4 separate regions of the Homo sapiens genome follow, and regions 1, 3 and 4 are each linked to region 2. Evidence: promoter capture Hi-C in 16 types of primary human blood cells and fetal thymus (Javierre and others, 2016). All regions are on one chromosome and are shown on one strand. The core of a region is centred on a gene start or on the middle of the fragment in contact, and the rest is flanking DNA. Distances in the headings are between cores, read along the strand shown.

Region 1 (4,889 bases), core at 1,579-4,078, 280 kb before region 2:
CCGGCCCTGCCAGCGGTAGCGAGCCCCATCCACCGGAATCACATCCAGAAGAAACAAGTAGCGGGCCTCGGGGTCCAGGCCAGTGACTGACACTCGGCAGGCAGGGAACATGCGCCTGTGCAAGGGAGGGGACAGGAGAGGCCTGGAGCTACCCACTGGCCAGGGGTGGGCCCAGCACCAGTAACGGGACATAACAACGGGCTCCCCAGAGCTGTCAGAGAAACATCAAAGGAGGTGGAATTAGAACCCAGAGGGCAGGCTGGAGGCTGTGGCTCACACCTCTAATCCCTATACTTTGGGAGGCCAAGGTGGGAGGATCTCTTGAGTCAGGAATTCAAGACCAGCCTGGGCAACATAGAAAGACCCCATCTCTACAAAAAAATTAAAAAATTAGCCAGGCATGGTGGTGCACACTGATAGTCCCAGTTACTACAGAGGCTGAGGCGGGAGGGTCACTTGAGCCTGGGAAGTCAAGACTACAGTGAGCCACAATTGCACCACTGCACTCCAGCCTGGGCAACAGGGCAAGACACTGTCTCTGAAAAATGAAAAAGGGCCAGGCGCAGTGGCTCATGCCTGTAATCTCAGCACTTTAGGAAGCCGAGGTGGAAGGATCATGAGGTCAGAAGTTTGAGACCAGCCTGGCCAATATGGTGAAACACCGTCTCTACTAAAACTACAAAAATTAGCCGGGTGTGGTGGTGTGTGCCTATAGTCCCAGCTACTCGGGAGGCTGAGGCAGGAGAATCGCTTGAATCCAGGAAGCAGAGGTTGCGGTGAGCTGACGAGATCGTGCCACTACACTCTAGCCTGGGCAACAGAGCGAGACTCCATCTCAAAAAAAAAAAAAAAAAAAAAAAGAAGCCAGAGGGCGGAATCTTAGAGCTGGAAGGTTTTCTTGTCTCATTTTACATTTGGGGAAACAGGACAGACGGGTTAAGTGATCTGTCACACAGCAGGTTAGGAACAGAGCCATGACTCCTACCCCTCAAAGCCTATTTGCAGAAGCAGGGGTGACTAACTTTCTTGCTAGGAGCTTCCTGTCCCCACCCTCCTCTCCTCCCCTGATCTCCAGCACCAGAATCTGCAGCTCTTAGATGAATTTGCTTTAGAAAAAATATACCCTGCCTGCAGTAGGGCCGAGGACTTTCCATGCTAGGGCTTGAGTTCCTGCCCCAGCTAAAGACCTCATCTAAGGTCAAACACTGACCGTGTCCCTGCCTCTAGGGTGACCCTGGACCTAGTCATATACTGACTCCTATTCGAGTTGCATACTGATCCCGAATCCTGGCCAGATTTCCCTGATGCTGGTCAATGGGCTGGCCCTTGACCCCCTGTCCTTGTCTGGATGCTGGTCTAAGCCACACACTAACCTATAACCCAGAGGGACTTCCTGACCCTGCCCCAGACTGACCCATGACCCTTGCCATAGATTGGTCCCTAAACTCAGCCACAGACTCCACAGACTGGCCCTTAACCCTTGTCACAGAGTGACTCCTGATTCCTGCCACAGAGTAACCCTTGCCCCAGGCCATAGTCAGATTCTAGGCCTAGGCAGAGCTCTAGCCCCTCGGGAACCACCCAGTCCTAGCCCCCTCCCCAGGGACTCTGCCTTTCCCAAGAGACCCCCACCAGAAACACGGACCCTGGCCAGCCCCTCACCTCCCAGCTTTGGTGATGATCATTTCTGTTCCCACAGAGCTGAACTCCTTCCATAGCTCCCGGTTCTCCAGGCTCAGGCTGACCCCCGGGAGGGAATGGAGGGCCTCTGGAGCTGATGGGGCCGGCTCAGTGCCCATGGCAGGGGGCAGAAGGGGCAGAGGTGGGTGCGCGGCCAGGGTGCGGGGAGCAGCCTCCATCCCGGAGAGGAAGCAATCCAGTTTAGGGGTGTCCAGTTCTGGAAGCCGGGGAAGAATGAGGAGCCAGCCGAGGGCCACAGCCCCCCTATTCTCCTACCCAGGAGCTGGTCCCAACGCTCACCGGGGTAGCGGTAGCCCTCCGCTAGGGCGGGTGGGAAGCTGGAGTCGGCCCCAGGTTGGGCGGGCCCCAGGCGGTAGCCGGCCCCCAGGGACGGGTACAATTCTCGTGGATGGTACATGTTGTAGTTCCGTCTGGCCTCAGGTCTCGCTGCTTAGGGCCCCCGGTGCTGCGAGATGCCCCCTTTATAGCTCACAGCTCAGCCCCTTCCAGATCCAGGATCACAGCCCCTCCCCTCTTTGGGGCCCTGGAGTTGGGCTGGGGTGGAGACCCCTGGGGCCTCGAAGGGGTCCGAGAGGGGGTCGGATACCTGGGTACGGTCCCCTCCTCCCCTCCCTCCCCACCCCGGGAGGCTTCATTAGCCTCGACCCCCTGCCCCCTCATTACATAATTAACTCCTCGGCTTGATTGATCCCCAGGGCTCGGACAGGGACGCAGTTTGGCGCTTCCGGCCAGCTGGTCCCCGTTCCCACGGTGGGGAGCCCCGGCTAGGGATAAGCTGGGGGGCGGGGCCTGGAACCTGGACGGAGCCAAGAGTCCCGGGACACACCTTGGCGCCCCAGACCTTCTGGCAGGTGACCGCCCTCCGCCCCCCTTCACTTGGAGGCCGGGCCCTGGAGGGAAGCAGCGTGAACAGAGGGAAAGTGCAGGCTAGAGGGACGCGGCCTGAGCTGATTTCACAGGGCACTCGGGGCCGCGAGGAGGCCGCAGCCCAGTCCCGAGCACCGTAGTCCTCCCTGGTCCCCATGCTAAAAAAACCTCCATCCCGAGCCAAGCCTCCAAAGTTCGAAGGCGCTCACAGTCCGACAGCTTCTGACGCCTCGCGCCAGGGTTTCCCGAAGGTCCCGCGCTGGGGAACCCTCGGAACTACACTTCCCGGCAGGCTCAGCGCTGAGGCGCGCCCGAAGGAGCCGGACGGACCACGCGGGGGCCGCTGGGAGTTGCAGTCCGACCGCGAGGGGGCTGCGAGGCCGGCGGCGCGGTTGCCTCCCTGGGACGCTGCCCCTAGGCGGCGGCCAAACGCTGCAGATGAGCAGACGCAGATCAGCCGAGGTCACGGCGTAGGCAGCCAGAGTGGGCTCAGGACCTCCGCCAGCAGTGAAACCGTCCCGGTTCCCGGAGACCCAGCTTGGACGGCTGTGCCTACCCCATGCCCCGCCGGGGCTCAGAACCGCACAGGTCTATAGGGGCGGAAATCTCCGCTTGAGCTCCCCCTTCCCGGATTACACGCGAGCCTGAGCTGTCTCCACTCCATTGTTTTATTATGTACAAACGCTACAGAACGAGGGGGACAGACACGCGTGGGGTAAGAAGGGCCTGGTGGGAGGAGTTCACAGAGCAGACGGTGCACTGGGACCAGGAGAGCAGAACACAGGCCATAACTATAGGGCAGGTGGGGCAGGAACGGGTTAAAAACGAGATCCAAGCCAGCCAGATCGCAGGAGGTGCGGGGGCGTCGTCCCCCTTCTGTTCTCCCCCCAAGGTCACAGTGCATGCAATAAAATATATATACAGGAGCTAGATCCGTCCTCTGCAGGGGCTCTGAGGGTCCAGAGCTCCCTTCGGGTGGCGGGAAGCCAGTGGCGCTCCCTGGCGGCCAGGCCGGGCTGGAGCCACATGCGTCGGGGGAGCGGGGGTCAGTCCCAGCCGTTGTCTTTGATCATGTGGTTGAGTTCAATGATGTACTTCCCCTCTTTGTACTTCTGGCTGCTCTCAAAGGCCTGTTCCTGAAAGGAGGGGCGGGACCGTCATCCCCGGAGCAACAGTCTCACCACAAGGCACTGGGGTTGGGAAGTGGACATGAGTGGCCCCATTTTACATATGAGGAAACTGTGGCCCAGAGGGGCAGGGCCGTATTTCTCACAAACACAGAGTAGAATAGAACTCCCTGACTCAAAGGTACTTTTTTAAGTACTAATGATGGCTCCAACAGAGAAGATAGGGAAGTGGCTAAAAGATTTCACAGTTCAGGGTTTGCAAACTGGTAGCTTCATGGCCATTTTGGCCTACAACATGTATTATGTTTGGACAGCAGACAGTTTAATAAAAATAACTTTAAAGTATTAAAATATAAGTAGGCCTTGCTCACTCCAGTTTGCCCAGCCTGCCCCCAACTCCCAACCCTGCCAATCTATGCTACCCTTTACACATCTACAGTATCTGCTTGGCCTTGCAGGCACTTGAGGTTTTTTTGTTTGTTTGGTTTTGAGAGGGAGTCTTGCTCTGTCGCCCAGGCTGGAAGTGCAACGGCGCGATATCGGCTCACTGCAACCTCCGCTTCCCGGGTTCAAGTGATTCTGCTGCCTTGGCCCCGAGTAGCTGGGATTACAGGCGCCCACCACCACGCCGAGCTAATTTTTGTATTTTTAGTAGAGATGGGGTTTCACCATGTTAGTCAGGCTGTTCTCGAACTCCTGACCTCAGGTGATCCACCTGCCTCAGACTCCCAAAAGTGCTGGGATTACAGGCGTGAGCCACCACACCCAGCCTGGCACTTGAGTTTTTGACCTCTTGTTTAGGCCAGCTCTTTATTAATTATTATTATTTTTGAAACGGAGTCTCGCTCTGTCTCCGCTCACTGCAAGGCTCTGCCTCCTGGGTTCACGCAATTCTCCTGCCTCAACCTCATGAGTAGCTGGGACTAGAGGCGCCCGCCACCACACCCAGCTGATTTTTTTTTTTTTTTTTTGTATTTTTGGTAGAGATGGGGTTTCACCGTGTTAGCCAGGATGGTCTCAATCTCCTGACCTTGTGATCCACCCGCCTCGGCCTCCCAAAGTGCTGGGATTACAGGTGTGAGCCACTGTGCCTGGCCGGCCAGCTCTTTATTTGGTAGAGGTCCAGAGTGGCCAAGCCACCTGTCCAGAGACACACAGCCAATCTGTGGCAGGGTCAGCAGCGAGCTCAGGTCA
Region 2 (4,672 bases), core at 2,040-4,539:
CAAAACAAAACAAAACAAAAAAAACACCACCACCACCTACATCACAAAGTTATGAGAAGACTATTGAGAAACTGCATATAAACATCTGTTAAATAGAAGGGGCTCGTTAAATGTTAGTTTCCTTTGTTCTAGAAGCTCCTTAAACAGAGAGACCATCTCTCATTAATTTCTATCATAAGTCGGTTACAAACTCTACCAAGGGCTGGGAAGAGTAAGATACCTTCTGGCCCTCAAGAAGGTTACAGCCTAAGAGGAGCGATAACTGTAATACAGCATGGGAAATGCAATGACAAAGATGCACCAAAGACACATCTAATTGGAGTGGGGGCAGTGGGTATCAGGGAAGCTTCCTGGAGGAGGGGACATCTGAGGTAAGCCATGAAGAAATGAGTAGAACTTAGCAGGCAAAGAAAGGGGAGAAGAGCACCCTTGGCAGGTGCACAGCCTGAATATGAAGGGGAAAGGACTACAACTAGTTCAGCAGGACCACAGCGCAAAGCACCCGGTGAGGAATGGTGGCAAAGGTGACCAGAGAGGCTATGCGCAGGCCAAAGAGCCTGAACTTCATCCTGTGGACAGCAGCGAGCCACTGAACGCTGCGAAAGTAACATGGATTACAGTCAGTCTTGCCCAAGAGGTAGAGTTCTCTGGCATTGAAGCTGATCTTACAGGGACAAAGCTACAAAGCAAAGAAACAGCACCCGGCATAGTGCCTGGCACACAAGAGGGACTCCCCCAAACTAAGTTCAGCCCGAGTTCCTCAGGACAGCCTGCTATTGAGGAGAGAGCCACTGGTCACACAGATCCAGATTATTTGAGGGGGACAATTCACTCAACTGCACTAATTGTTTCTTCATCTATAAACCGAGTCCTTGTGCCTAGAAAGCACCAGGGTCAAACCTCAGTTGCTTTCCCATGTAAGACCCTGAATGTTGGTACCCAATCAAAGGCTTTCTGATTTTGGTTGGCTCATGAACCCTGCCTGGAAAACTCTCCCACAGGGCTTCCCCCGATCCCTGCACACATAGCCAAGACTAAATCAATCCTACTTACTCTCCACGATTCAGAGCAGGTTCAGCTGACTCCCTGCTCTAGGTGCCTCAGGAAACCCTCTGGAGATCTCTAGGCTAAACCCGAGGTCTTCTATTGAAACCAACTGTTTAAGTACTTTTCTTTCTCTCCAGATGATTGGCTCCTTGAAAGGACTATTTTATCCTTAGCACCTGGGGCCTGACACCTGGGGGCCCAGGAGATGCTGTAGGCTGACTGGCCCAGCAGGTCAAAGGGGCACAGGAACAACGGGCAGGATCCAGAGAGGGGGAAGGAAGAAGTCAGAGGCAATCACCCCCTACCTCGGGAGTGACTCAGGCCCCGGAGAGAACTAGGAAAGAGTCAGCCCGGCTGGGGAGATGAGGAAATGGGGAAGAGGCCTCTCCCACCCTTTACTTCAGTGCAGATACAAGACTGCCCTGTTTCACAGCGGGATCCTGACTGCACAGTCTCCCTTCCATCAGCCAGACTTCCCCACCTCTCTACTCCATCCCTGGGACCTAGGGCTATGGGGGAAGGGAGATGCCTGCACCCCTCCCAGGCTATCCACCCTAAGGGACCAAGGGTCTCTACCAGAACCCTCGCCCAACCAACCCTCCAGAATATCCGGCCTGTAGCTGGAGTTCCCCATCAAAGAGCAGGGATGACCTCAGGTATCATCTCATTCAATCCACTTTATAGAGGAAAAAACTGAGGCACGGAAATGGGGAAGCCACTAGCTCAAGGGCACACAACCCATCAAAGGCAAGGCTTAAACCCAGACCTCTTGACCCCTGGTCTGAAACTCCACTAACATGCCAATGTCACAGGCACCTCAGGATGCTCAAGACACGGCAGCTCGCGCTGATCACCCCGTGGATCCTCAGAGGAGGCTGGGCTGCCAGAGTCTGGGCAAAGTGTATCGTTTTCGTTTCGCCCTCCCCCAACCTTTGCTTCCCCGAGGCGGTCCCGCTGGGTGCCCACTGGTACTCACAGGCTGCCCGAGTACTGGCTGCCCCCAAGGAAGCCATACTTGTCCGTCTTGCGCAGGGCCAGCCCGTTTATCTCTGAATCTGAGCCCATGGAGCTCACATCATCCGCCAAGGACTCCAAGGTCCCAGACATGAGGCTCACGGAGTCCAAGTAACTCAGCGTGTCCGGGGCCTGCCCTCGAGGCCCAGAGATGCCAGGTCCCAGGCTGGACGTGGAGCCCAGGTCTTGAGAGTTTTCAGCAGGCTCCGGAGCTGGGGTCACGGTCACGACAGCTACCGGAGCCTCACAAGTCCCAGAGGGGCCTGTGCCAGGGCCTGAGGGGTCCTCAGGAGCCTGTCCTGCTGATGCTGATGTTGCTGCGGCAGCTCCATGCCCACCTGTCACTTGTCCTGATGCACTCCGTGCAGTCACTCCTGAGGCCACTGTGGTTCCCGGCTTGGGGGCAAGCGGGGGTTTGGCGGTCAGGGCACCAGGAGCCGTTCTGGAAGGGGTCCTGGTAGGGGTCCCGGTGGGGGTCCCTGGTCCTGGGGCGGGTGAGGGTCGAGCCTCCTCTGTCTTCGGCGAGTCTGCCCCTGCGGCCAGAGCCCTCGATGTCTCAACTCCAGCCACTGCCGCGGGCTCTGGGGATTCCGGGCCGGAGGGGAGCTGCGGCTTTGGGGCTTCGGGCGAGGCCTCCAGGGTCAGCACCACCACCGTGCTGCCCGTGACAGCCGGGGCTGGGGCCGGGGCTGGGGCCGGGGCCGGAGCAGAGGTCTCGGCCGACCCCGGGACCCAGGCGGGCCGCGCCTCCCCGGGGGCCACCAGGGTGACGGGGGCCGAAGTGGCCGTAGTCACTGGAGGTCCCGGAGCCACCACCACGACGGGCCCGGCCCGGGAACCCCGGGGCGGCGGCGAGGGGGCCGCGGGGGCGCCATGACGGCGCGGCGGGGCCACCAGGGGCGCCGTGCCCGTCTCCATGGCCGCGGGCCGCCCCTCACATCCCCCCGCCGGGGAGGCCGCAGAAGGCGCCGCCCCTCGGGCCTCCCGGCGAGGCCAGCCGAGAAAGGGGAGAGGGCGAAGGGCGCGGCTCGGCGCGCGCCGGGGGCGGAGCGGCCGCTGGGCGCGCAGAGGCGGGGCAGGGGTCGGGGGGCGCCGCGCGCCGGGGTCTCTCTCGAGCCCTCTCACCCCCTCGCGCGCTCTCGCCACCGCCCCCTCCCTCCTGCTTGGGGGCGAGCCGCCGACCTCGCGCCTGCGCACACGCCGCAGAGCCGGCTCCGCGCCAGCGTCTCGGCGTTCCACGCCTGCGCGCGGACTGGCTCATCGCGCTCCTTTTTTCTCCCGCCTAGTCAGAGGATTTGGACGAATAGTGGGAGAGAGAGAACTGGGCTTCTGCCAATCGTTGGAATCGTGGGCGGGGCTGGAGGCGAAAAAGGGGTGGGTCATCTGGAAAGAGGAAACGGAGAAAGCTAGGGCTGTAAGACCAATCAGAGGACGAGGAAAGGCAGGGGGCGATGGGACGAAAGAAATAACCAATAGAAACGCAGGGGTCTGAACCTCCTGGCCAATGAATATGACTGAAGGGTGAATGACCGCGGAAGGGCGGAGGAGGAGGCAGGGCTGTGCGAGTAAGAGGTGGGGCCTGGAGGCTTCTTAACCAATAGGAATGGTAAAAAGGGAGCCAATGAAAAGGGGAGCAGGTGGAGGTCAAATTGACAGGCAGTGATGTCTATTTAGGCGGTGACAGACAGCATCCGCAGTCAATAGGAAGAGCTGAAGAATTCTTTAGGTCTCCCAAAATGGTCAGTAAGGAATGACAGCTGGGAGGAGGCGGGGCAAGCTAGAGATTAATTCGCCCCGTCAGCCAATGATCGTGTTCTCCCACTTTGGCCACAGGACAGGAAAATAGATAGCTGTCTCAGCCAATGGGAGCATCCAAAGGGCAAAGATGCTGCCAGCAGGCGGTGCCAGCCCAGGGATAGTCGGTGACAACCGGAGACAAGCCTTATGGGAGGGTGACAGCTGGGGACAGCACGGAGAAGGGGCGGGGGCATTAGTGCAGCCCTCAACCAATGAGTGCCGCGCTGCCCCCTCTCGAGTCCTTTCCGGTCCCCTATTCTTCGTTCAGCTCCTGAGCCCCACACTCTGGTGGTCTGTGGGACCCTGAGCCCCACCACAGATCCAGTGCCCTGACCCAGTACTCTCATCCTTTACTCTATAATTCTCCGATCTCGGCCCCCAACTAACCCCAACACTCCAGGCCCAGGTGGCAATAGCCAGAGCCCCCAGATCCTATAAGCAACCCATATCTCTGCTTCACCCATTTCCTGCGGGAATCCCAACCTCCAAGTCCCTCTCCTCAGTTCCCATCTATCTGAGCTCCTCCCCAGAACCCAGGCTCCAGTTCCTCAGACCTTATCCCTCTGAGTACCCCCTCCATTTCTTCTAGTGGGGATCTCAAACCCCAAATCCATGAATCCCTAATACCATGAACTCCCCATATGTGTGTTACTATTCTTTTGGGGATCCAAGGCCCCAGTCCCGTCAACCCCTCTCCCCTCACTGCCACATCCCTCTGTGCTCCTCATGTTCCACTGAGAATCCCGACCTCAATCTCATGAGCGCTCCAGGTTGTCCTTAGATCACAAGCATAAAGACCTGACGTTATGAGCTC
Region 3 (5,061 bases), core at 358-2,857, 260 kb after region 2:
CCCTCTCTCTCTGTATCATTCACAGGGAAAGGGGTGAGTGAAGAAAAGATTTTAGTTGTGTTACATTTATTTATTTATTTATTTATTTATTTATTTATTTATTTAGAGGCAGAATCTCACTCTGTCGCCCCGGCTGGAGTGCAGTGGTGGGATCTCGGCTCACTGCAACCTCCGCTTCCCAGCTTCAAGTGATTCTCCTGTCTCAGCTTCCTGAGTAGCTGGGACTACAGGTGCATGCCAACACGCCCAGCTACTTTTTGTATTTTTAGTAGAGATGGAGTTTCGCCATGTTGGTCAGGCTGGTCTCGAACTCCTGACATCAGGTGATCTGCCCATCTCGGCCTCCCAAAGTGCTGAGATTACAGGCGTGAGCCACCGTGCCTGGCCAGTTGTGTTACTTTTAGAAACCCATTGATATACAAATAAATAAACAAAAAAGAAGAAGGAAATAGAAACCCACTGTTATATTCCTCAAGCCTGGAAGAAGCCTGGTGCCACCTGGAATCTAAGAGAATGGAAATGCCTAGAAAAGGTACTGAAATTGCCCCAGACAGTTTCTGTAGTGGGAGATCTTTGCAAATGATAGGCCCTGAGAAGTCTGACTTGAGGCATACAAGGGTTCTCTTGTCTCAACAGGATCTTTTGGAACCTTCCTTCTCCTTGGGATCCCCAACTTCGGATACCACAGATCTCAGCTTTTTTTGTCCCATCCAAGAGACAAGGTGGTTGGCCAGGCATGGTAGCTCACACCTATAATCCCAGCACTCTGAGAAGCTGAGGCAGGCAGATCACAAGGTCAGGAGTTCGAGACCAGCCTGGCCAATATGGTGAAATCCCGTCTCTGCTAAAAATACAAAAATTAGCTAGGTGTGGTGGCAGGAGCCTATAGTCTCAACTACTTGGGAGGCTGACGCAGGAGAATCGCTTGAACCTGGGAGGCGGAGGTTGCAGTGAGCCGAGATCGCCCCATTGCATTCCAGCCTGGGCAACAGAGCAAGACTCTGTCTCAAAAAAAATTAAAAAAATTTAAAAGGTGGTTTGGACCTCTTAGATCCTGAGGGAGAAGAAATTAGGCAGAGCAGGTGTAGGAGACCCAGAGGAAGTCCCTGGTGGAAGAGGGGAACAACTCTGACAGGTCCTCAACTAGGAAGTTGGGGATACTTATCGAACTTTTTTTTCCTTCTTAAGAGCCAGGGTTTCACTCTGTTGCCCAGGCTGAAGTGCAATGGCATGATCATAGCTCTCTGTAACCTCAAATTCCTGGGCTCCAGCCATTCTCCTATCTTGGCTCCCCAAAGTGCAAGGATTACAGGCCCGAGCCAACACACCCAGCCAAAACTCTAAAATTTAAACCTTTATTTTAGCCTCAAGCAAGTATTCTGGACCTAGAGACACTGAATTGAAAGAAAACCCTCATTAGGAACTAGGCCTCATTATCTTGCCTTATGTATTATTTTTCTCTTGTAACAATATTGTGAGTATAATAATTATATTGTAATGTATTACTGTGTTAAAAGCATCAGTTTCTTAAATGCAAACACTAAAAATATATAGCTATTTTTGTATTCCTCTTTTGCTTTTGTTGTGTATGGACATGGGGTCTCACTGTGTCACTAGGCTGGGGTGCAATGGTGCAATCACAGCTCACTACAGCCTCAAACTCCTGGGCTCAAGAGATCCTCCCGCCTCAGCCACCTGAGGAGCTAGGACCACAGGCGCCCGCCACCATGCCCAGCTATTTTTTTTTTTTTTCATTTTTGTTTTGTTTTGTTTTGTTTTATTTTTTGAGATGGAGTCTCGCTCTGTCGCCTAGGCTGGAGTACAGTGGCGCAATTTCAGTTCACTGCAACTTCCACCTCCCAGGTTCAAGCGATTCTTCTGCCTCAGCCTGTGGGATTAGAGGCTCCCATGACCATGCCTAGCTAATTTTTGTATTTTTAGTAGAAACAGGGTTTCACCATGTTGGCCAGGCTGGTCTCCAACTCCTGGCCTCAAGTGATCTGCCTGCCTGAGCCTCCCAAAGTGCTGGGATTAGAGGCATGAGCCACCGTGCCCAGCCTCGTTTGGTTTTTTATTTTTTAAATGTTTGGTTTTTTTATTTTTTTATTTTTTTTGAGACAAAGTCTCGCTCTGTCGCCCGGGCTGGAGTGCAATGGCATGATCTCGGCTCACTGCAACCTCCACCTCCCGAGTTCAAGGGATTCTCCTGTCTCAGCCTCCCAAGTAGCTGGGATTACAGGCATCCACTGCCACGCTGGGCTAATTTTTTTGTATTTTTAGTAGAGAAAAGGTTTTTACCATGTTGGCCAGGCTGGTTTCAAACTCCTGACCTCAAGTGATCCGCCCGCCTTGGCCTCCCAAACTGCTGGGATTACAGGTGTGAGCCACCGCGCCCAGCAATATTTTATTTGCTTTTGTTTTTGTTTTTTTGAGACAGAGTTTCACTCTTGTTGCCCCAGCTGGAGTGCAATGGCACGATCTTGGCTGGCTGCAACCTCCACCTCCTGGGTTCAAGCGATTCTCCTGCCTCAGCCTCCTGAATCTCTGGTATTACAGGCGCCTGCCACCACGCCCAGCTAATTTTTGTTATTGTTAGTAGAGACGGGATTTCGCCATGTTGGCCAGGCTGGTCTCGAACTCCTGACTTCAGGTGATCCACCTGCCTTCACCTCCCAAAGTGCTGGGATTACAGGCGTGAGCTGCTGCGCCTGGTGTGTTTGAGTTTATACTGGGTAGGGAGTCATGGTTAACGCCTATAATCTCACCCAGAGTCTGAGATGGGAGGCTCCGTTGAGTCCTGGAGTTCGAAACCCCGTCACTACAAAAAAATATATATAAAGAAAAAAAAATTAAGCGGGCGCGGTGTGGCACCTGTGGTCCCAGCAACTCGGGAGGCTGAGGTGGGAGGATCACTTGAGCCAGGGAAGTCGAGGCTGCAGTGAGCCAAGATCACGCCGCTGCATTCTAGAATGGGCGACAGCCTAAAAAAAGTCAGCCTTAACAATAACAAAAAAGACAATGGCTAGGGCCCCTCCCAACCTTTCATGCCCTACCCGGAGCCCCTGCGCGGCCCTTACATTTAAAAGCCCCTTTGGGAGGCTGAGGTTGGCGGATCACTGGAAGTCAGGGGTTCAAGACCAGCCTGGCCAATATGGTGAAATCCCGTCTCTACTTAAAATACAAAAATTAGCCTGGCGTGGTGGCGGGAGCCTGTAATCGCAGTTACCCTGGAGGCTGAGGCAGGAGAATTGCTTGAACCCGAGAGACGGAAGTTGCACTGAGCCGAGATCGCGCCACTGCACTCCAGCCTGGGTGACAGGGCGAGACAACGTCTCAAAAAAAAAAAAAAAAAGCCCTAAAGGACCACTCTTGGATCTGATCCTGAGAAAGTCCCTTAGAAAACATGGCGACGCCAGCCTCACCACCTGTTTCCAAAAGCAGTGTGACGCCCTTCGCTCCCTTAGTCAAGCTAATCTTACTAAATAAGGAACAAGCTTCCCCTGAGGCTTGCCCTTCAGCGCACTGGCACTGCCCACCCGAACGGGCGTCACGGATCCTGGTCAGTCTCTAGGATCGCGCTCGCTGATAGGACGCTTCTGGTCGAACGTCCAAACAAGGTGTGCGGTGATTGGGCCGCGGAGGGCGGGGCGTTTGAACGGCGCGTGCGTGGGAGTTCCCCAGGCCGGCGTCATTAGGATCCTGGTGGGCGGTGGGACTTGGGTTCAAAGAAGACCAAGCAGGCAGACGTGTTCGGGGGCCCGCGGGTTCCGAGACTGGAGACTGGACCTTTGGCTGTCCCCACGTGCATTCTAGGTCAACGGTGCGGTGGCAGAACCCTGGGGCTCTCCCCCGCGGAACTCGGCCCTGGCCGAGGCCCCAACCACGCTAGTAGGAGGAGGCCGAGCATCCCTCCTCGAAATCGCGAAATCCCGGCCCGACAATGTAGCCACGGAGTCGAAAGCCGCGTGCGAACTTGGCACTCACAAAGCCTAGATAACCGTCTATTTTCTCCTGTAAAATAGGAGGGATGGACCCCCACAGATCATTGTAAAAGGTTCTTACAAAGAAAAATCCTCCTGGACTGGGCACGGTGGCTCACGCCTGTAATCCCAGCACTTTGAGCGGATCACACTTCGAGACCAACCTGACCAACATGGAGAAACCCCGTCTCTACTAAATTAGCCGGGCGTAGTGGCGCATGCCTGTAATCCCAGCTACTCTGGAGGCTGAGGCAGGAGAATCGCTTTAACCCGGGAGGCAGAGGTTGTGGTGAGCCGAGATCGCGCCATTGCACTCCAGCCTGGGCAACAAGAGCGGAATTCTGTCTCAAAAAAAAAAAAGAGAGAAAAGAAAAATCCTGGAAGTCAAGTAAAAATGTGTGAAGGTGTTTTATAAAATATGAAATATCTAGAATACACAAATCTATAGAAGGACTCGGGGAAAGGGGAGTGAATGCTAATAAATACAGAGGTTCTTTCTGGGGTGATGAAAATGTACTAGTACTGATTGTGGCCGCGCTAGCACAAAAATCCGTTTCATTGGCCAGACGCTATGGCCCAGGGAAAAAAAGAAGGACTAGGGGGAATGGGGAGTGAATGCTAATGAATATGCAGTTTCTTTTTGTGGTCATGAAAGTGCACTAAAATTTTCATGCTAGCACAAAAATTGAATTGTACACTTCAAATAGGTGTATTTGTGATGTGCATTCTAGCTCCATAAAACTCAAAATGTGTGAAAATTCTTTGTAACTTTACTAAAAATTGGGGGCACTCTATAGTTTACAAAACTATCCCCATCCAGGCAGGGCACGGTGGTTCACACCTGTAATCCCAGCACTCTGGGAGTCTGAGGCGGGCGGATCACCTGAGGTGAGGAGTTCAAGACCAGCCCGACCAACATTGTGAAACCCCGTCTCTACTAAAAATACAAAATTAGCCGGGCGTGGTGACGCATGCCTGTAATCCCACTTACTCGGGAGGCTGAGGCAGGAGAATCGCTTGAACCCGGGAGGCAGAGGTTGCAGTGAGCTGAGATCGCACCATTATACTCCAGCCTGGGCAA
Region 4 (5,069 bases), core at 1,405-3,904, 260 kb before region 2:
AGCAAAGGGAGGGACTAGGCTTAAGTGCCAGCGAAGTATCCAAATTCCTGATCCTTTCCCCAGCTGTTACTTTGTTAACCCCTGCCTTCCTGCAGAACACTGACTTGGCCTTTTCCTGCTGAGGGTCTGAGACAGCCGTGCTATAATTAATGAACGAATGTCTCCCCAGCCAGACTGTAAGCTCACCAAGGACCTCTCCCCACCCTCACTGGTCTCATTTACACATTATAACTGCACCTGGGACAGAGTAGACATTCAATAAAATATGCTAGATGGCCTGAGATGGATAAATTACCTCTCTATCCTAAAACTCCACATATGCACAGAATTTCAGGGTGTTCACAGTTCCCTTAGTATTCATGAATGCTGGGTAAGAACCACTGTCCTTAAAAGACCTTGGGGGTTATCTCTGAGGGGAGCTGGGGAGCTGGGAAGATCTGGGCTCCTTCTCCACGGAGACCCTAAGCAGTGGGGAGTTTTTCTGAGGTCCGCCCCCCACTGGTACCTGTTGATGATGTTGGGCAGGAAGCAGAAGAAGAACTTCTCAGGGATTGGGATGAAGGGCAGCAGCCCCAGGTAGTAGGAAAGCAGCACCCAGAATCCTCGGCTTATTGTGAAGGACAGGGGCATCTCGGGGTTCTGGGGAGGCAAGGAGAGGCATGAGAATCTGTCTGCTCTGGGGAAGCAGAGAGGAGGCATGAGCTGCAGGGGAGCCGTGGTGGGCATTCCAGAGGCCCTACTACCTGCAGGATCCAAGTCACATCTTGGGGCTGGGTGTGGTGGCTCACGCCTGTAACCTCAGCAGTTTGGGAGGCTGAGGCAGGTGGATCACCTGAGATCAGGAGTTCAAGACCAGCCTGGCTAACATGGTAAAACCCCATCTCTACTAAAAATACAAAAATTAGCTGGGCGTGGTGGCGTGCACCTGTAATCCCAGCTACTCGGGAGGCTGAAGCATGAGAATCGCTTGAACCCAGGAGGCAGAGGTTGCAGTGAGCCGAGGTCGCACCACCGCACTCCAGCCTGGGCGACAGAGAGAGACTGTGTTTCAAAAAAGAAAAAAAACAAAAGTCACATCTTGGCTCTGTGTTCGAGGCCTGAGTTCACACCCTTTTCATTGCCACCGCCACGCCACTGGGAACTCTCCCAGACCCCTCTAGCTCGGGTCCCCATGCTGGGTGGGCTCCAGCTCTGGGGAGGAGGGGCCCCTGGAGGAGGAAGAGGACGGGGGAGGGGTGGGGGGACTCACGGCAGCCTTGCATTTCTTCATGACCGAGCTCTTCTCCGAGGCCCAGATGGTGATTTCATTACGGTCATAGCGTCTCACCAAGCCTGCTATCTGGGAGGAGGAGAAGGAGGTGAAGGGAGAGCCAGGCCTCTCTCACGCCCCCGGTGGCCGCCCTAGCCCTGCCTGCAGCACCACCTCACGGATGAGCTCTTCGTTCTTCCCTTTGATCTCTACGCTCATGGGTGTCCTTGGAAACCTCTGGAACAGGTCCTCCAGACGAACCATGCGCCGGTCTGACCCGTGAGCAAAGTGGCCTGGGGGTGGTGTGGGAAAAGGGGTCAGAGGGAAGCCAAGGCGGAGGTCCAAGGAAGGCAGGCATGGCCCAGGCAGGGCTCGAAGCCCTTGCTCTCACCTGGAGAGAAGTAAACCTCCAGCTTCTCCTTGTAGAGGGGCAGGTCCTGGGGAGGACAGGAAGGATGTCACTAGAGGCCCGCATTGGGCATGGTGACTCTCAGGGTGGGGGTTGGGGTGTCAGGGCAGGGCCCACCTCGAAGTCCAGGCTGCCCACATCCCTGTTTAGGCCCGACTGGCGGCACAGGTTCTCATCATGTGACACCACCACCACTCTGTCCCGTGTCAGCTGACAGTCGAGCTCCAGGAGGTCCGAGCGCTGGGCCATGGAGCTGTGGGGGTGAAGGTCAGCGGGGGGCAGGGGCAGGGGACTGGGATGAGGGGCATGGTGGCTGGGAGGTGGCCGGGAATGTGAGAGCGGAGTTCGTGGCGGGATGTGCAGGCCACCTCCAGGGGGCGCCAGTCACCCAGCTAGGAAGTGAATGGCGTCCCTTGCTGTGATGCAGTCCACGACCTGCACACCCTCACATGGCAGCCTGGGCAGGGGCAGATACACTCACTTCTCCATGGCCTCCATGGTGTTCTCCAGCAGCTCTCCAGATCCTGTGGGGGGCACTGGAGTGGGCCTCTGGGGCTTGGGGTCTAGGGGCCTGGCCCAACCTCATCACCCACATTCCCTCTCTGGGCTCCATCCTCCCTCTGGCCTCACCTCCCCAGCCAGCCCAGGCTGCGCCAGCATCTTCTTCCTCGTCCACACCCTGCCCTGCCACTTCGCTCTCCTTCTCTCTTGGTCCCTGCCCCGTTTCTAGCATGCCCCCTTGGACCTACCCCTCTGTGCTGTCCACTTTGGCACCTGTTCTCACCCCTACCCGGCTCACCTCCTCGGTGGGCCCCCAGGCGGATGCGGAAGGTGGGAGCCCTGGGCGTGTGCAGCAGATGAGGCCGGCGCAGGAAGAAGATGGAGAGCATGGCATAGCTGCCCAGGGCAGGGAGGGCATAGTACAGCAAAAGGCTCATGACCGTACTCCCACAGAAGCTCCTGCAGCCACACGCTCAGCCGTCCGCGGGACTGTGCTGCCTGCCTAGCCAGTGTGGGCCGGCTCTACTACTGGCCACTGCCACGCCCCTGGGACCTGCTGAGCCTGCCGCTGGGCTGGCTTGGAGCCAGGCTGCAGGGTTCGGCTGAAGCTGGGGTAGTGTCAGGAGGTGAGGCAAGTAGCCCTGGCTCTCATATCCCCAGGCCCTTCCCAGCCCCCAGCAGCCCCGTCCTGGGCTACATGAGGGGAGTAAAAACCACCCAGGACTGTCAGGACCTCTCCCTCTCACTGGTACTTGTAGCCAGCGCATCCAACATGCCTACCCCTTGCCATTTCAGAGGATCCAGGGGTGTGTAGGGTGCTCCTGAGTCACCCCGAATCACCCCCAGCCAGTTAGACAGGAAGCCATTAGCGAGAGGACAGGACAGTGACTAAGGGGAAAACTGACCCCCTTCTTTCTAGGAGTCTGGAGCTCTCCAGAGCCCCGTCCCCAGCCCTGGGCAGCTGGGAGTGAAGGGCACCAGGCCCCTGAAAGCCCAAGTCAAGTCTGTCCTCAGAGCCGCACGGGGCAGGGCGGGGGCGTCGCGAACACAGACAGAGCCAGGGTCAGCCATAGACACATCTCTATATTTATATATTAGACGGGTCAGGGAGGTGGCAGGGGCGCCGGGCTCTCCACGCCCCCCAGCTCCACTTCTGCTCACCACACACAGAAGCAGCGAGGGCACGCGAAGTGACAGCTTTGACAGGGAGGGGATTCGGCCCGGCCTGGCTCCTCAGGGATGCTAGCCCTTGAGACTAAGGAATGTTCCTTCAGGGAAACTAGGGTGGGGTTTGAATGAGATGAGGGGGGCAGGCATGGCCCTGAGTCCCTACTCAGCGCCCCCCACCCTCCACCTCTGCCCTTCAGCAGGTTGGGGCAGCCAGAACCCTTCCATTCCAGAACTGCCAGAGACTGGGACGCTGGGGAAGGTAAGGGCGCAGCAGCAGCAGCGGGAGATTGAACTGGGGCCACCTGAGGTCCCGAGGCCCCGTGGGGAGGGCGGGTGGGGAGGAGAAGGCCTTGGCCTGCCTGAAGCTGGAGGCCTCAGCAAAGGAGAGAGGTGGCCAGGCCCATGCTCCACCCCGGCCTGGGCTGCCAAGGTCCGGGCTGGGCACAGTGTCCATTTTCTAACAGTCTGGCGGGAGAGGGGCAGGCAGGAGGCAGGTCCTAAAGAGAGAAGCAGGCAGAAGAGGAGTCGTTAGCACCCCCCGGGCAGACCCACTGGAGCCCTGACCTCAACATCTCTCATTTCACCCTCACAGCTGGATAGGCTGGGTCTCAGTTTCCTTATCTGTAAATGGAGATAATAATAGTACCTAGCTTGAGGTACTGCTGTAAGATTAAAGGAATTAATACATGTAAACCTCTTAGAACAATGCTTAGGGCTTTATGCTTTCATTATTAGAACTGTCTCGGCCGGGCACAGTGGCTCACGCCTATAATCCCAGCACTTTGAGAAGCTGAGGTGGTGGATCGCTTGAGCCCAGGAGTTTGAGACTGGCCTGGGCAACATAGCAAGACCCCAGCTCCACAAAAAAAAAAAAAAAAAATTAGCCGGTTGCAATGGCTCGTCCAGCTAGCTGGGAGGATCCCTTGCACCCAGGAGTTTTGAGGCTGCAGTGAGCTATGATTGCACCACTGCATTCCAGCCTGGGTGACAGAGCGAGACACTGTCTCAAAAAAACAAAACCAAAAAAAAAGATAAATAGATTGACTCCGGAAACTGAGGCGCCGAGAGGTGAGGTGCCTTGCCCAATATCACACAGCACTTACTAAGTGGCACAGCTGGAGTTTGAGCCCAGGTGCGCATGCCTTCTTTCTATCAGGCCACACCTGGCTGAAGACAGGAAGAGACCGGAGGAGGCAAGGAGGCAGCGTGGGTGGGGGCAGGCCAGTGGGGTCCCCACAGCTATGTGAACTGCTGATCTGGCAGCAGGTGTGAGGAGGCCTGGCAATCTGGGTCAGGCTGGGCGCTGCTGGGCCCCTCCCAAAGCAATCATGGCCCCACCTGCTTCTGCCACACCCAGAGCTGAAGCTTGGCTCAGGTCCTCACCTGGGTGACAGAGGCCCTCAGTGACCTCTTGCCTCTTTGCCAGTTCTGTTCCTAGAAGGAGATTAGAATGGCTTGTGGGGCTGGAGGATGCAAGGTGTTGACAGGCAGAGACATTTGGGGCTGGAGGACTCGGTGGGCCACCAGTCTGGGCAGCCTTGGGCATTTTTTTTTTTTTTTTTGAGATGGAGTCTTGCTCTGTAGTCCAGGCTGGAGTGCAGTGGTGCGATCTCGGCTCACTGCAACCTCTGCCTCCTGGGTTCAAGCAATTCTCCTGCCTCAGCCTCCTGAGTAGCTGGGATTATAGGCATGTGCCACCACACCCAGCTCATTTTTGTATTCTTTACAGTAGAGACCGGG

The links. The method cuts DNA at HindIII sites, captures the fragments that hold promoters and counts their contacts. A CHiCAGO score of 5 or more calls a contact.
Region 1: the fragment with the promoter of TBX6 here is called in contact with the fragment with the promoter of TBC1D10B in region 2 in 14 of 17 cell types (naive CD8 T cells, non-activated CD4 T cells, neutrophils and 11 more); the score reaches 13.9 in naive CD8 T cells.
Region 3: a fragment that was not itself captured here is called in contact with the fragment with the promoter of TBC1D10B in region 2 in 17 of 17 cell types (megakaryocytes, M2 macrophages, erythroblasts and 14 more); the score reaches 21.3 in megakaryocytes.
Region 4: the fragment with the promoter of GDPD3 here is called in contact with the fragment with the promoter of TBC1D10B in region 2 in 17 of 17 cell types (naive CD8 T cells, fetal thymus, activated CD4 T cells and 14 more); the score reaches 15.0 in naive CD8 T cells.

The regions. Positions count from the first base shown.
Region 1 is chr16:30,089,096-30,093,984 of GRCh38, forward strand. It overlaps TBX6 (T-box transcription factor 6), which reads right to left and starts at 2,829. Exons shown (of 9, transcript NM_004608.4): 1 at 2,778-2,829; 2 at 1,981-2,146; 3 at 1,663-1,897; 4 at 1-115. The coding sequence starts at 2,098. It overlaps YPEL3 (yippee like 3), which reads right to left. Exons shown (of 4, transcript NM_031477.5): 4 at 3,219-3,704. The coding sequence ends at 3,615. RefSeq lists enhancers at 1,293-2,166, 3,299-3,488 and a silencer at 2,819-3,078. The HindIII fragment of the contact is 24,011 bases long and covers 1-4,889 here.
Region 2 is chr16:30,367,205-30,371,876 of GRCh38, forward strand. TBC1D10B (TBC1 domain family member 10B) reads right to left here and starts at 3,290. Exons shown (of 9, transcript NM_015527.4): 1 at 2,024-3,290. The coding sequence starts at 2,979. It also overlaps a transcript of MYL11 not described here. RefSeq lists silencers at 2,716-2,795, 2,886-3,175. The HindIII fragment of the contact is 4,560 bases long and covers 345-4,672 here.
Region 3 is chr16:30,630,835-30,635,895 of GRCh38, forward strand. No RefSeq gene overlaps it. Among named protein-coding and RNA genes, the nearest start is that of PRR14, 18 kb to the right of the region's middle. RefSeq lists enhancers at 2,632-3,583, 3,584-4,534. The HindIII fragment of the contact is 3,770 bases long and covers 1-3,492 here.
Region 4 is chr16:30,110,883-30,115,951 of GRCh38, forward strand. It overlaps GDPD3 (glycerophosphodiester phosphodiesterase domain containing 3), which reads right to left and starts at 2,655. Exons shown (of 10, transcript NM_024307.3): 1 at 2,458-2,655; 2 at 2,140-2,182; 3 at 1,776-1,911; 4 at 1,641-1,686; 5 at 1,424-1,542; 6 at 1,250-1,339; 7 at 506-639. The coding sequence starts at 2,596. It overlaps MAPK3 (mitogen-activated protein kinase 3), which reads right to left. Exons shown (of 9, transcript NM_002746.3): 9 at 3,223-3,826. RefSeq lists a silencer at 2,626-2,920. The HindIII fragment of the contact is 12,096 bases long and covers 1-4,692 here.